Regions from separate parts of the Homo sapiens genome. Here region 1 is linked to region 2. The links are contacts of gene promoters, found by promoter capture Hi-C in blood cells and fetal thymus (Javierre and others, 2016). All regions are on one chromosome and are shown on one strand. Each heading gives the region's core, a stretch centred on a gene start or on the middle of the fragment in contact. The rest is flanking DNA. Distances are from core to core; before and after follow the strand shown. Region 1 holds the start of MAML3 (mastermind like transcriptional coactivator 3). Region 2 holds the start of USP38 (ubiquitin specific peptidase 38).

The links. The method cuts DNA at HindIII sites, captures the fragments that hold promoters and counts their contacts. A CHiCAGO score of 5 or more calls a contact.
Region 1: a contact is called between the fragment with the promoter of MAML3 here and the fragment with the promoter of USP38 in region 2, in 1 of 17 cell types (non-activated CD4 T cells). The highest score is 7.1, in non-activated CD4 T cells.

What each region holds. Positions count from the first base shown.
Region 1 is chr4:140,148,364-140,155,486 of GRCh38, forward strand. MAML3 (mastermind like transcriptional coactivator 3) reads right to left here and starts at 5,821. Exons shown (of 5, transcript NM_018717.5): 1 at 4,497-5,821. The coding sequence starts at 4,964. RefSeq lists enhancers at 1,695-2,539, 2,540-3,382. The HindIII fragment of the contact is 806 bases long and covers 5,472-6,277 here.
Region 2 is chr4:143,180,021-143,187,448 of GRCh38, forward strand. USP38 (ubiquitin specific peptidase 38) reads left to right here and starts at 4,897. Exons shown (of 10, transcript NM_032557.6): 1 at 4,897-6,112. The coding sequence starts at 5,431. It overlaps USP38-DT (USP38 divergent transcript), which reads right to left and starts at 4,841. Exons shown (of 4, transcript NR_185979.1): 1 at 4,488-4,841. RefSeq lists enhancers at 3,947-4,832, 4,833-5,717 and silencers at 4,769-4,818, 5,039-5,288. The HindIII fragment of the contact is 4,447 bases long and covers 1,983-6,429 here.

The DNA of each region.
Region 1 (7,123 bases), core at 4,571-7,070, 3.0 Mb before region 2:
CAAATAACATAATAGAATTAAACATGTATTGGAGCTTAAAAAAATGCTTCTTGAGAATTAAAAGAAAAAAATACATATGAAGGACAGAAAAAACAAAATTTCAAAAAGTTTTCCACAAACTTAAGGCATGCTGTGTTGGGCAATGGAAAGCTTTCCGAAAGACAGTCTGTCCTGTTACCCATGCTAGCGGCAGAACAGGATAAGCCAAAGAAAAGGTTATCATAGGGAAGATGTAGAAATAGCTTGGTAATACGAGCTTGCCAAAAAAATTGATACAGAGCCAGTAATTTACCTTCAACAGGGTAAGAAATGGGAAGCCAGATTAACGTATAAGGACATTCAGCAGTGGACTAATATGTTGACATTTCCTGAATCTATTCCAGGAATGGATGGAACATTTTGGATGGGTTGTAGTTGTCTCCAATACTCGGTAATAACGCATTTATTATTAAATGCATGTTATGAATTTTTTGTGATAAGCTCTTCAGAACAGGGGTCACATAGATTTATGCAGTCTGTAAGCTGTATATAAATTAAGCACACTCTGAAAGTTACGATGGTGCTAATACAGTGAAGAGGTCATGAAAATAATATGGTCTTATCTAAGTCAACTAAGACTATCACCATTTTAAAATTTTGAAAACTGTGCACTGTCATGCTTTTTGATGTGCCTGCTCAGCTTGAAAATGTACTTGTCAATTGAAATTTGCCTTAAAATTTTAACCAGGACCTCAGTTCCAAATACAGCAAATAAACAATGCCCCCTTTTGTTACCACAAATAATTAAAAGCCATCTTTTCAACTGAGGCTCTCTGATAGGTGAAGTCAATAATTTTCACCAAGTCTTTGAGGGGAAGAAAAAAACTATGTCAATAAAGTGGTGGTGGTTGGGATGGGATCATTTGACTACATGTTCAGAACGGACCTAATACCTGAGGTAGTGCAGCTTCAAACCCAGGTCTGTGCCACCTGCTCTATCAACAGGGCTGGTGAGGACTCACACAGAACCCAGCCCCCTCTGTGGCAGCCTGGAGCCAAGGAAAATTTTTTACCCCTCACCCACTCTGCTTTTTGTTTGCTATTTTTTTGTTGTTGTTTTTCATGCCCATTCTTGTAAATGTGTAAGATAGGAAAACAAATCAAAAGAGGCAAAGCCCTCATTAGACTGCCTTCTTAATCCAAGCGAGGCAGAAAGATAATTAATCGATATTTAGTACTTCGGACATATTGGTCCTTAGAAAGTAAACAATACCAATGAAACAGTAAAGAATCCTATTCATCTTTATTTTTATATCACCGTTATTATTATTTGGTTGTGGGTGATCATTGTTTTTCTTTAGGGCTTTCCAAATAGAGCGCCCAATCTGAGAACTACATTTAATTGTTCTGTGCCTCACTGGAGTACAACTATAATCCTGCAGTCAATTCAAGAAAATGAAGAGCAACGTTTTCTTTACAACCTCTATTTTTGAGATTTTACCTCAATACAGACTGTTAAAATACTCTCAGAAGCCAAGGTTAACTTTTAAACTAATTATTTTAAAAGGAAATATAACTTGTAGAGCATGTTTCTTTCTTTTTTTTTTTTTTTTTTGGTACACAGAATTTACTTGCAACTCTGCTTAAGAGTTAAGGCTTACATTACATTCATCACACTCATCACACATACCAGTGAGAGATGCATGTGAAACAGCTGAAGCTAAAATACACTCCTATTCTGTACACAGCCCTGGCATTTATTAGTGCGTAAGTCTAATCAACAGGCTAAATCATTGTCATAAAATGACAGAAAATTTTATTTTCACGCAGTCATCTTTCAAGTCTATTTGTTGCTAATTTGCTAAACTGGGATTCACTATGAAATCTACAGCTGATGTCTCTGTCTATTGAAGCAAGCATTATCTTTCTATTTTCAAAAGTAAGCTGTGGCTTGGGCTTGCTGTCTTCTTCCCAGTAAGGTCAGGAGGCTGGGCTTGCTTCCACCTGCGAGTGTATCACAAACCAGGCGCGCGCACCCGAGCCCTCCCTCCACCAGGGCGGAAACCAGAGAACACAACCCAAACACCGAAAGTTTCTGGTCGCAAACTCTACTCATCTTGCCGTGTCCAGAGACCCGGCACTGGGAACGGCACTGGCTTTTGTTCCAGGGTCCCCCAGCTGGCGAGGTAAACGCCACAGCAGTCCTTGATCCCCAAAGGTTGTGAGAGATTCTGTGGCACGGGAATTTTGGAGCCTCCCGAAAGGAGCCCATTTCTCCGCAATCCATGCGCGTGGGGTGTACAAATACACGAAAAGAGGACGCGGGGTGGGCAGGCATGAAACCTTCAGTGCCTCTTAAATTCTCAGTCTCAGGTTCACAAAGTGAATCTCCTCCTCCGTGGAAGGGCGCTAGGGGGGCGGGGGCTGGGAGAGAAATAGGTTGGAGAAAGGGACCGGAGCTACAGTCGAGATGCGGGACCGGCCCCGCCTCCGGCTACAATCAGAAAAACTACAGTGTGTCAGTGGTTTTCGGTTTCCTGTTTGTAAAGCGAGAACCTCCCCCGACTCGAACTGTCGTTCTTCCTCAAAACCAACCGAGACGGCCCCTTCTTCGCGCTCGGGGCAGGCTCAGCCGCAGGGGGAGCGGAGAGGAGGGACGCGGGGGCATGGGGGGCGCGGCGGGGCGGGGACAGCCGCGATGAAGCGGGCAGGGCCACGGGGCGCAGCACCCCTCCCAGCCCAGCGGCCCCGGGGTCTGAGCTGGGCCGCGAGGCGGACAAAGCGCCTCCCGCTCCCTCCCCCACGGCCACGTTCCAAAAGGGAGGAAGAAGGCGGGCAAGAGTGGCTGGAGGAGGAGGAAGGGAGGAGGAAGGGGAGGGGGAGGAGGAAGAGGAGGAGGGAAGGTGCTGCCGGCGGGACTGGGCAGGATCGCGCCGACCTGGGAGGGGAGGGAGGAGGGGTTGAGCGCCCCCGGAGAACTGGGAGGAGGGAAGGATTCTTGAAGCCCAAGATAAACAAATTGTTCCTCTTCACGTGCGGGGTGGGGGGACGTGGGGAGCGAGCACTGCGGCGTCGCCTCCCCTCCCCCAAGCCGACTCTTTGTCACCGAGCGCCGGCCCGAGCCCCCGGCGAAAGCCCACGGCAGCACTGGCACCACCCCGGCGCCGGGGACTCACAGACCGGGAACGTGTGCGATTTCTAAACCGCACGACGGGAGGGCCGCCCCTGCCGGGCTCTGCGCCGCCGATCGCTGGGCGGTCTGCACGGGAAACAGGCGAAGGCGCGCGGCCCCGGCACGCTCCAGGATTCCCGTCGCCTGGCCCACCCAGCACCCGGGCGGCGCGGTGCGGGGGGGGGGGGCACACACCTTTCCCAAGCTTCCGGCCTCCCCTCACCCAGAAAGGAAAGCAAAAGAACCGGAGAGGGGAGATAAGAGAAAGGATTCTAGCCTCCGGCTTGGGGGGTGGGAACTGCCCCTTCCTCCTGGAGAAGTTAAGCCATTGGCTGCTCATCCTACCTCGAACCCGCCCACCCAGCCATTTAAGCCTCTTTTACCTCCCTGCTACCTTCCATTGCTCTGGGCTTATTAAGCAGGCCCCCAAAGTTGGCGGGCAGCGGGGCAGGGGGCGCCAAGCGGAGAAAGACTCCGTGCACGCAAGTTTAAAAGGAAAAAAGGAAAGAATCCCAAGCGAAGTTGTGTGGTGGGGCCTCTTGGCGCAAACCCTGGGTATTGCTTTCCCCTCCCGCCCCCTCCAGGCCGCTCCCCTCTTAACCCTCCCAGCCGCTCCACCTGCCGGGCTAGCCCCGAGTCGCGAGCAAAGAGCGGAGCGCACCCGCGCCCCGCATCCGCGCGCGCTCCCGCGAGCACCCCCGCGCGCAGCCACCCTCGCTCGTTTCTCACCCACTTCAAAGTTCATTCACAAAACTCTCAGACTTTCTCAGCCCAAAGGGGGTGAGCTGGGGAGAGGAGGCGAGAGGCTCTCCTTCCCCGCTTCCCCCCTAGGGGTTGAGGGCCTGGTGCCCGCCCAGAACCTGCGACAGCATCAATATTTCCACGCACCCGGCGGATGTGCTGAGAGGGGTGGGCGTAGGGGGACGGGTCTGGGGAGGCGAGGCGGCGCGGCTAGAGGTGGGGTGGGGAGCGGCGAAGAGGAGGAGCAAGGTTTCAACTCAGGGGTTCACTCTTTCAAATCGGTATCTTAAGAAAGGGAAGGGGGGAAACTTTTCCAGCACCTCACTCCGACGCTCCTCTAGGCTCCCTCCGCCCCTCGCAGTCGTGACTGGCTTCTCCCCTCTCGCCCCCTCCTCCCCAAATCTGACAACCCTGACAGATTAACAGGTAGCGACGACGGCAGCTTTTTCCCTAAGAAAAGTTGACGTTAACCCTTAGGCTTCAGCCCACCTCACCCACCGTGCAAATCAGACCCTTGTACCCCCATGTAAGAAGCTCCACGCGCCCCCCACCACCACCACCACCCCCAACGCGCGCCGCAAGCCCGCTGCCCGTGCGCCCTCACCATGATCAGCGTGTGGTTCCTCTGCTCCGCCGAGGCAGCCTCCGCATCTTGCTGGGGTTTGCTCGGGTGCTGCTGTTTGCCGGTGCCGGCGCCCGATTTCTTGGCCCTCTGCTCCAGGGTCCGCTGGTAGAGGCTCACGGTGTCCCGGCGCTCCAGCTCCAGCTGCTCCACCTGAGCCTGCTGGTACCTGTTCTCGCAGTTGACGTGGTGCCGACGGCAGCCCTCGATGCGCTGGCGGAGCCGCTCCACCACGGTGCTGTGCTTGGGAACGGCCGCCGAACCGCCGCCGGGGCCCCCGGAGCCGCCGCATCCACCGGCTGCCGGGTGATTGCTACTCGGAGCAGCGGGAGTACTATTGGGAGTATTATTCACACCGATCCCGGCCCCGCCGAGGCTGCTGTTCAGGCTACTGTTGATGCAAATACTACTGCCATTCGCGGCAGCAGCGGGGGCTGCGAAATCCCCCATCCTGCTCCCCGGGCACACTATTTTGGAAGAACTTTTTTTATCCACCCCCCTATCAGCCTCCTCCTTGGGTCCAAGGATTAAAATAGTTTAAGTGGAACGCGGGGGAGACGCAAGCACATGGATGGAAACGGCGATCCCGACGGGGCGAAAAAAACGGGGGGGGAGATTTTGGGGTGGTTTTTGTTTCCTTTTTTTAAACTGTAAAAGCTCAAGGGGAAGAAAAGGGGGGAACGTTATCGGAATACCATCAGACACCTATCAACAAAAAGAATCACAACAAACTGAGCCAGCAGCAAATCGGGTTGCAACTCAAGGGGAGATCCGCTCCTTGCTTGCCTTCTTTTTATAATCCATTATTTTCTAATAAATTCCAGGAGATTTCCGGTGGTTGGCAAGCATTTTCTCCCTACATACCGAAAAACACACCCCATGTACACACACAAGCATATGCCTCCAGTGCGGACACGCGCGACACACACTCACTCCACACCGCATCGGAAAACGGCAAGCTTGCTTATTGCATTTTCCTTCCACAAAAAAGTTTTGGTGTTTATGCCGCCCCGTGTTCTCAAAGTACTTTGGCTGCTCAGTTGCATTTCACAGGAACCTAGATATCGAATCCTCGGGCTGGGGGAAGTAAACACATGGACAGTCCGAGGCGACTGCAAAAGTAGATCGGTGAAGTCCTTTGCAAAACGCCGCGCAGAGAGCAGCACCTAACGCTCGGCTGGGCTGCCGCTGCCGCCGCTGCTCCTGCCACCATCACAATGATCAACTGCTCGCCGCCGCCGCCGCCGCCGCCTCCTCCTCCTCCTCTCGCTCCTCCACCTCCTCCTCCTCCTCCATGCCAGCGGAGTGATATCAGGACGCGCGAGCTCAGTAAACACGGCAGCGGCGGCGGCTGGAGGCCGTGAGACAGGCCCGCGGACACGGCGCAAAACCCGGCCCGGACTCTCACCCGGCAGGAGCGGGCGCGGCACGCACCAGCACCCGGCTCCCGTCTCCGTCGCCTCGGCGCCCGGCGCCCCTCCTACGCCCCCAACCACACTACCGCCCCGCCGAGAAGCCCAGAGCCGTCGGCGACGGAGAGAAGAAAGATTCTGGGGGGATCTCAGAAATAAATCAACTTTTGACCTGTGTGTGTGCGTGAGAGCGTGTGTGAGTGTGTGTGTCTGTGTATGCGCGCGCGCGTGCGCGGGGACGCGCCTGGTAGGGTTTCCTTATTCCAAGGAAAGTATCAAGCGATCCCAAGTTGTTGTTATACATTTATGCATTATATTGCAGAACTGTGCATGACCAGGCAGAAACATTGAAGCTTTACAGCAGTTGTCTGTCATCCCTATCCATGTGGAAAGAAAAAGGCAAATGAGTGACTTGTTTTTAAAACCCAGGTAATAAGTCTGCGCTAGTAACAGCGCTACTTACGGACACTTGTTCCAAGTCTAGGCCAGACTGAACACACAAATACCAAATTCTAAATAAATAGAAATAGGCATCAAAAATGTGTAATATTTAACTCACTGTACATAATGATTGTTGTTACTAAGTCAATTATTGTTTTACTTACCCTTGGAAAAAAATAAAGCAAGCAGGGACTTGGAGGTGAGACTAACAGTACATTTAAACAGACTGTTTTGAACACTAGGTGCTAATGACAGCAGTAATTAAGGTCCTTCGTAAATCAAGTGGAAAGATTGCAGATTTCATAGACTAGAACTATAGAAAAAACACAGCATTTCACAGTTTGTCATGACCAAAACAAAAACAAGCAAAAATAACAGGCCTACTTTATTGCTGGATATATTTCTTTCCATTTCAATGAATTCACAATAAGTACAATTAAAATGGACTAGCAACTGCAGAAATCAATCTAAACTTTCCATTTTATTAAAGCACATTATCTTTCCCGATATTATCTAAAAACAAAAATAACAACTAAGGATCAAATATTCTTGAATATGGACTTAAACCATTGCATATACATATTTTTAAAAATTAAGATGGAGAAATTATTATTTCTCTAATAATCAGTAAACTATAAATCTTGATTGTGAGATGTTAATTATAAGTCATTTTGTATTATTTCAATAAATCTTAAGAATTAGTTTTTAGGGTAAAAATACACCCCAGTTTTCTAAAATAGCCAGGAATAAAAGAAC
Region 2 (7,428 bases), core at 3,647-6,146:
CTCCTCTTCTAGTAACTTGAGATACAGAATTTTGTCTTTTAAGCATATGAGTCAATCCATAACCTACTGTAGCCAGTTAAACCTAAAAATTTTTGGAGTTTTCTCTTTGTCTTAGGCAAAGGCAAACCCACTATTCCCAATATTCTGAGTTTATTATCCACTTCCCTTCACCAATCAGGTGTCCTAAATATTTAACTTCTTTTTCTACAAACTGCAATTTGTTCTTAGAGACTCGCAATCCCCTTTCTCAAAGAAAATAAGGCAAGATTATGGTGGTTTCTGATCACTCGGCCTTCCTTTTGCCAGATATTAAAAGTTCATCTACATATTGTAACAACTGGGTTCCCCTGGAAGGTTGGAATTCCTCCAGGACTAAGATTTGACCAAATAAGTTTGGGGCTTCTGTGAAACCCTGTAGCAGTACAGTCCAGTGGTACTGTTGTTTTCTCCCAGTTATAGAATTTTCTCATTTCTTTTTTGCCTATGAACATCCAGTTACTCCAGCACCATTTGTTGAAAACACCATCCTTCCTTCACTGAATGGCTTTTGAATCTCTGTCAAAAATCAGTTTGGTGTATTTGTGTGGGTCTAGGTTATTGTTGCCCATTTCACTGATCTATGTGTCTCTCTGCCATTACCATACTGTCTTAATTACCCTGGCATACAATGAGTATTATTTTTGGGTAGTGATATGGTTTGGCTCTGTCCCTACCCAAATCTTATCTTGAATTGCAATGCCCATAATCCCCACGTGTTGAAGGAAGAAACAGGTGGATATAATTGAATCATGGGGGCAGGTTCCCCCTTCCTGTTCTCGTGATATAAGTTCTCACGAGATCTGATGATTTTATAACAGGGTTCCCCCTTAGCTCAGCTCTCGTTCTTCTCCTTCCTGCTGCCATGTGAAAGGATATGTTTGCTTCCCCTTCCACCATGATTTTAAGTTTCCTGAGGCCTCCCCAGCCATGCTGAACTGTGTTTATAAACCTTTCCTTTATAAATTACCCAGTCTCAGATACGTCTTTATTAGCAGCATAAGAACAAACACAGGTAAAATGATCCCTCTCACTTAATTCCTCCTTTTCAGAATTGTTGAAGCTACTCTGATTTGTTTTTCCAAATACATTTTAGAATAATCTTGCCTGTATATGAAGAAGAAAAAAAAAACCTGCCTGGAGTTTTAATAGGAATTGTATTAAACCTGCATATCGATTTAGAGATCATTAACATCTACACTATGGTGAGTCCTCCAATCCATGTATATGGTCATTTATTTAGATCTTCGATTTCTTTCATCAGTGTTTTGTTGTTTTCAGCATGAGTCCTGTACATCCACTGTCAGATTTACACCTACATAGTTTTTATTTTGAGCAATTATCAATGGTATATTTTTAATTTTGGTTTCCATGTGTTCATTGCTAGTACATAAAAGTACAACTGATTTTTGTCTATTATCTTATATTCTGAAACCCTGCTGAGTTTGTTTTTTAGTTCTAGAAATTACTGTGTAGACTCCTTACGACTTTTTCTAAACCATGTTTTTCATTTCATTTTTTAAAAGTTCATTCATTCAAAAAATAGTTAGATTGAACTGGGCATGGTGGCTCACGTAATCCCAGCACCTTGGGATGCTGAGATGGGAGGATCATTTGTGTCAGGAGTTCAAGACCAGCCTGGCCAACATGGTGAAACCCCATCTCTACTAAAAATACAAAAATTAGCCAGGTGTGGTGGTGGGTGCCTATAATCCCAGCTACTCAGGAGGCTGAGGAAGAAGAATTGCTTGAACCCAGGAAGTGGAGATTGCAGTGAGCTGAGACTGCAGTGAGCTGAGATCACACCACTGCACTCCAGCCTGGGCAACAGAGTGAGAGACTTCATCTCACAGACAAAAAAAATTGATAGATTGTTTACCCTAGTGTTCTAACTGCTAGATATAGAAGTAACTAATAAAATTAAGGGGTTCTTTTTGACCTCATGAAGCTTAGATTCTAGAGAACAGAAAAAGGCTGTAAACATATAATAAATGAGAACAGTAGGAAAAGACACAAGAGCAACTTGATGGAGGGCCTTAAAGTCAACAGTAGCCATTTGAATTTTAAGAGGAGAAGCACTGGAAGATTTAAAATAGGGTAGTGAGGCTGCTCTGCCTATGAAGTAGCCAATGGTATATTTTTAATTTTTAATTGTCTTTTATTCCTTTACTTTCTTAATAAACTTGCTTTCACTTTGCACTGTGAAAAAAATTAAATGAAATAGTGTCGTAAGATTAGCTTGATGTCCATTTTAAGTCATTAAAACAAAAACCATATCAAAGTGGTTGGTGTGTTTCTTTACAGTCTTTTTTTCTTTACAACTTAAAAAACATATGAATATAAATTTCATAAAGTCAGGGATTATTTGTAATTACTTCATATGATGGTTTATTTATCACAGTCCTCTCTAATCTATACAATCAGTTTGCTTTTGATTCTATTAGGTGATATAAATTTCCTAAGAGAAAACTAACCTCACAATAATGTTATTGCAGTTGGCCAACTCTAACCACTGCTTTTGGAACTGCCTTTTCTCTTTGCTTATCACAAACATAAACACATACACACACTTTTCATCTAATAGTATGATGGAAATAATAGAGACTCTAGAGTCAGACTTGATTATTTTTTTTAACCTCCTTTGGCTTCAATACCTTATCTATAAAATGTAGCTATTAACATCTATTTCCAAAACCCCGTTTTGAGAACTAAGGATAAAGTGTAATATATTGAGTTCCAGGCACACAGAGGTTGCTAAATAAACAATCACTCCTTATCCTGTGCTTTTTCTCTTTCATCCCCATCACTCAGCTTCCATTCTCAGATCTAACATATTTGTAAAACCATGTAGTTGGCAATTGAGGCCTTAGACTAAATCTTTATATGAAATTTTAAAGCCCATTACAATAGCACCCACTAATCCAATGATTAGTGGCATGATTCACTGCAAAAAAATCTTCCACAGACTTCTGAAAATATTTTAAAATGTTAAAAAGGAACATGGTATTATTATAGAACTTTTAGTTATGCTATAAAATAAATTTAAAGTTGGCCACTTTCAATTGAAATCTTATAAAAGAGCATATTACATACATTTTTTAACCAGTGGCAAAAGAAGGAAATAAGCGTTGAATATCTTGGTATAAAAACCTAGTATTTCATTTCATGCATCTATCATTCAAGAGGTATTTTAAAAATACAGAGTCATGGTGCTTTTGGAAGTCTAATATTATGACATGTAATTTATATGGACTAATAGCACTATGTTCTCTCAGACATCTTATTTTGTAATATTCAATTTTTCAAGACCTAATATTAACAGAAAGAAGAAAATGTTATAGACAATTCAAAGTAATCTGTCAAGTTTTAAATTTACCAATATTTTTTTCTTGTCTACTTTGGAATAATCACTTCGCTGGTACTATTCAGCAATCTTCATTCGTCCTGTTAGTTTCTTAGCACAAAGATTAATTCCAAATTTCCTCCACTCCACCTCAAATCCACGATCCTTCTTAATACTTAATTCCTTCTTAATATTTTATTTTCTATATTACCTTTGTCTTCCACTGTGGCATTATTCCCAGTAAAGACAAACATCTGTGTACCTTCACCTCCTATTGGAAAAATCATTCCTGTCTCTAGCATGACTGATAGATTAATTACCTCAATTCTCTTTTATCTTCCGTATCTTCCTACGAGTCAACTTGGTCTTAAGTTCCCTTTTACTCAAGCTCCTGTCTCCTCTAAACTGCTCTTCTTAAGACTACCATAATCGACGTGTGAATATATTAGTGTAATCGTGTTTGTAACTTGGTAAAAAAACAAAACACTATTTAGCAAACTGAAGTAACAGAATTTTGTTCATTTTTCTACGGGACATTTTAAATGACCTATTTCTTTAAAGTTTTGTCTGTATTACAGGGCCTTAATGTCTAGTTTCACAACTATATTAACCAAGCCTGAAGCAGGCTACAGTTAGGCAATATTTTCCAATATAAAGACCTCTGATTAAATTCTTACTGTGAATCTTCGGAATTTGGCATGAAACAGAACAAGCATGATTGCACCTGTTCTTCCCTATTGTAAACCATCTTCGGTGTCAACATATACAATAAGTTTTGTGGTATTTCCACCTGGTTTTCTATTTTCAAAGTACCCTTGTATGACACAGGTATAAAAATATTTTGATTCTAATCTGCCATTTTCCTTACTCTCACACTTTTTTGGACGGCTTATAATTTTCGATATGGTACAAAGCTCACTAACTGGTTCTTTGCTAGAGGCCTGCTACTGATACTGATGGTCGCTAAATGCTAGGTACGCCGCCAGTATTGCTCTTACTTCAATACCGACATCGCAGGATAAAGGCAGTCACATTTAGGCGCGCAAGCGCAATTCTTGATTAATGAGCCAAGGCAGACTTCTCAATCCGAGTTTTGAGTTTTCCTTACTTTTCCCCCAAATGCTCTTTTCCTCGGATTTCACATCGATAGCACTTATTCGAGTTTTCACGAGTAACCTGACGCAGGCGGAACCGACGAAGACTAGCCGGCAAGAATCCTACAGTCGCAGCCATCTGCGCAGCGTCCGCCGGGGACGCTCCGCGCGGAAGACCGCCTGTGACTCGACACACTCTCCAGTGACGCGGCCGTCGCCGCACCTGCGCGGCGGGGCGGGAAGGAGACTCCCAGCGCCGGGGGGAAGGGAGTCTACGACTCGGGAGGGAGGTGGGGGAGCAGGGAGGGAGAGAGGGAACAAGGGAGAAGGAGAGAGGCGGACAGGCGGAGGGGCGGAGGGGCAGAGGGGCGGAGGGGCGGTCCTTCCGGAGGTTCTTAGGTCCTTCACTTCCTGTTTGCCGGCACTTCAAAATCCGGGTCAAAGGGTGTCGCTTCGGTCTCTTCTCCCCGGCTGATCCCAGCACTCTCCGTGACAGCGCCTCCTGACTCAGCCCAGGACCGGCTTCTTCTCACGACCTGCTGGAGACTGGACGCCCACACCTGACCCGGAACTCGGAGGCGTGCTTCCTCCACCCGCCGGCTAGCAGCCCCGGGCCCTGAGCTCCCGCCGACGCCGCTGGGGGGCCCGACAGGCCCCTCGGCGCTGATGCTGAGTGGGATCGAGGGCCCGGGGCGGCGGCGGAGTACGGGCCTCTGGCGCCTTAGGCCAGCCGCAGGTGTCGGTTCTTAGGCTCTCCAGGCTCGCTAGCTCCCGCCCCGGCTTGGATGGGTCTCCCTGCGCCATAAATGTGGCTGCTGAGGCGGCGGTGGCCGTGGCCCGTCGCGCTGCTGCTGCGGCGCTCCAAGTTCATCTCCGCCCCGGGGCTCTCCTGCCCCACCTCGGGGCTGCCGCCACCCGCTCCTTATCCCCTGGCCCTGGCCTTGCAGCGTGGCGACAATGGACAAGATCCTGGAGGGCCTTGTGAGTTCCTCGCATCCCCTGCCCCTCAAGCGGGTGATTGTGCGGAAGGTGGTGGAATCGGCGGAGCACTGGCTAGACGAGGCGCAGTGCGAGGCCATGTTTGACCTGACGACCCGGCTCATCCTGGAGGGCCAGGACCCTTTCCAGCGGCAGGTGGGGCACCAGGTGCTGGAGGCCTACGCACGATACCACCGGCCAGAGTTCGAGTCCTTCTTCAACAAGACCTTCGTGTTGGGCCTCCTTCATCAGGGCTACCACTCTCTGGACAGGAAGGATGTAGCCATCCTGGACTACATTCACAACGGCCTGAAGCTGATTATGAGCTGTCCGTCGGTGCTGGATCTCTTTAGCCTCCTGCAGGTAGAGGTGTTACGGATGGTGTGTGAGAGGCCGGAGCCGCAGCTCTGTGCCCGACTGAGCGACCTTCTGACCGACTTTGTGCAATGCATCCCCAAGGGGAAATTGTCCATCACGTTCTGTCAACAGCTGGTTCGAACGATAGGCCATTTCCAGTGCGTGTCCACCCAGGAAAGAGAGCTGCGGGAATATGTCTCCCAGGTGACAAAAGTGAGTAACTTGCTGCAGAACATCTGGAAGGCCGAGCCTGCCACACTACTGCCTTCCCTGCAAGAAGTTTTTGCAAGCATCTCTTCCACAGGTAAGGGTCATTATCTTTCAGAATATCTCATAAAAAATCAGTATATGTCTCTCTTGCACACACACATTCACACCATGTTTTCCTCCTGCCCTAAAAACATTCTTAAGCGAGAGCAAATCCTAATACCTCATCCCAAATTTATTCACATTCACTACCTTATTCAGGACGTCACATCGTACTTTAAAAACAGGCAGCGTTCCCATTTTAAAGGTTGAGAACGTCCAGGTCTAAGACCTTTGGCACTAAACAAGTTGCTTAATTACCCAGCCTCTGCTCAAGTTATTTGGAATGCTTTGAGGATGACAGCTACTGCAGAAAGCTTCCATTCATTAGTGACTAATGGTAGCATGATGTTTACCATAGTATTTATTGTACGTGTCTCTAATTTTGTAATGAGTTTTTCCCCCATTTTTGTATTTCCTCATTTTTGAATTAATGGATTGTGCAGTTTGTTTTATTACTGGATTATCCCAGATAACTATGAAGTTTTTAAATAGTGACATTTTTTGTCTACAGTATCTAGTAGACAAAGGAGGAATACAGATAGAATGAGGGAAGGAAGAGTACGAGGATTTAAATATTTGTTTTTGTGCCCATGAACTGCATTCTCAGAAAGCAGAGAAGGGTCACATGATACTTGCCTAGAAAATGCTTTCTCGCCGAGGAATTTTACCAGTACCTCTACCTTCGTTGTTCTGTCTTGGACCTTTCAGGTCTGAATAGATTCAAAATCATGTTCATTTCCGCTCTACTTGGTACAAGCATTCTCCTTCATTTATAACACCAGTGGGGACTGTGTGGCTGTTCAAATTGAACTTGTGAGGGATGTGTCCTCTTCTTATCTTAAGAACCAGAAGTAAAGGTGGAGTTTTAACAAACGTTCTGTGTTCTGATGAATTTAATATATTTACGAAAGAATTACAAACGATGTATTTGCAGTATCTGAGTTGGTTTGTTTTTTTTTCTTATTGTAATTTTACTTCTATTGCCTGTGTTGTCATAACTGTTAGGTTCCTCCCAAATTTTTTGAACTGTAGCAGTAAAGGTACTTGTCTTGGATTTGCTTAATTTGTATACAGTTTAAGCAAAATCTCCACAAAAGTCACCTTAATTTCTACTTTAAGAGATTTTTTAAAAATCTTCCTTAGAGCAATGTAATGATGAATAGTTTTAAGTTATTTTGGAGGGTCTGAAGTGGGAGTTGAAATGATACTTAAGTGCCCCCAAAAGTCACCTTCATTTCTACTTTAAGAGATTTTTTCAAAATCTTCCTTAGAGGGATGTAATGATCAATAAGTTTAAAGTTATTTTGGAGG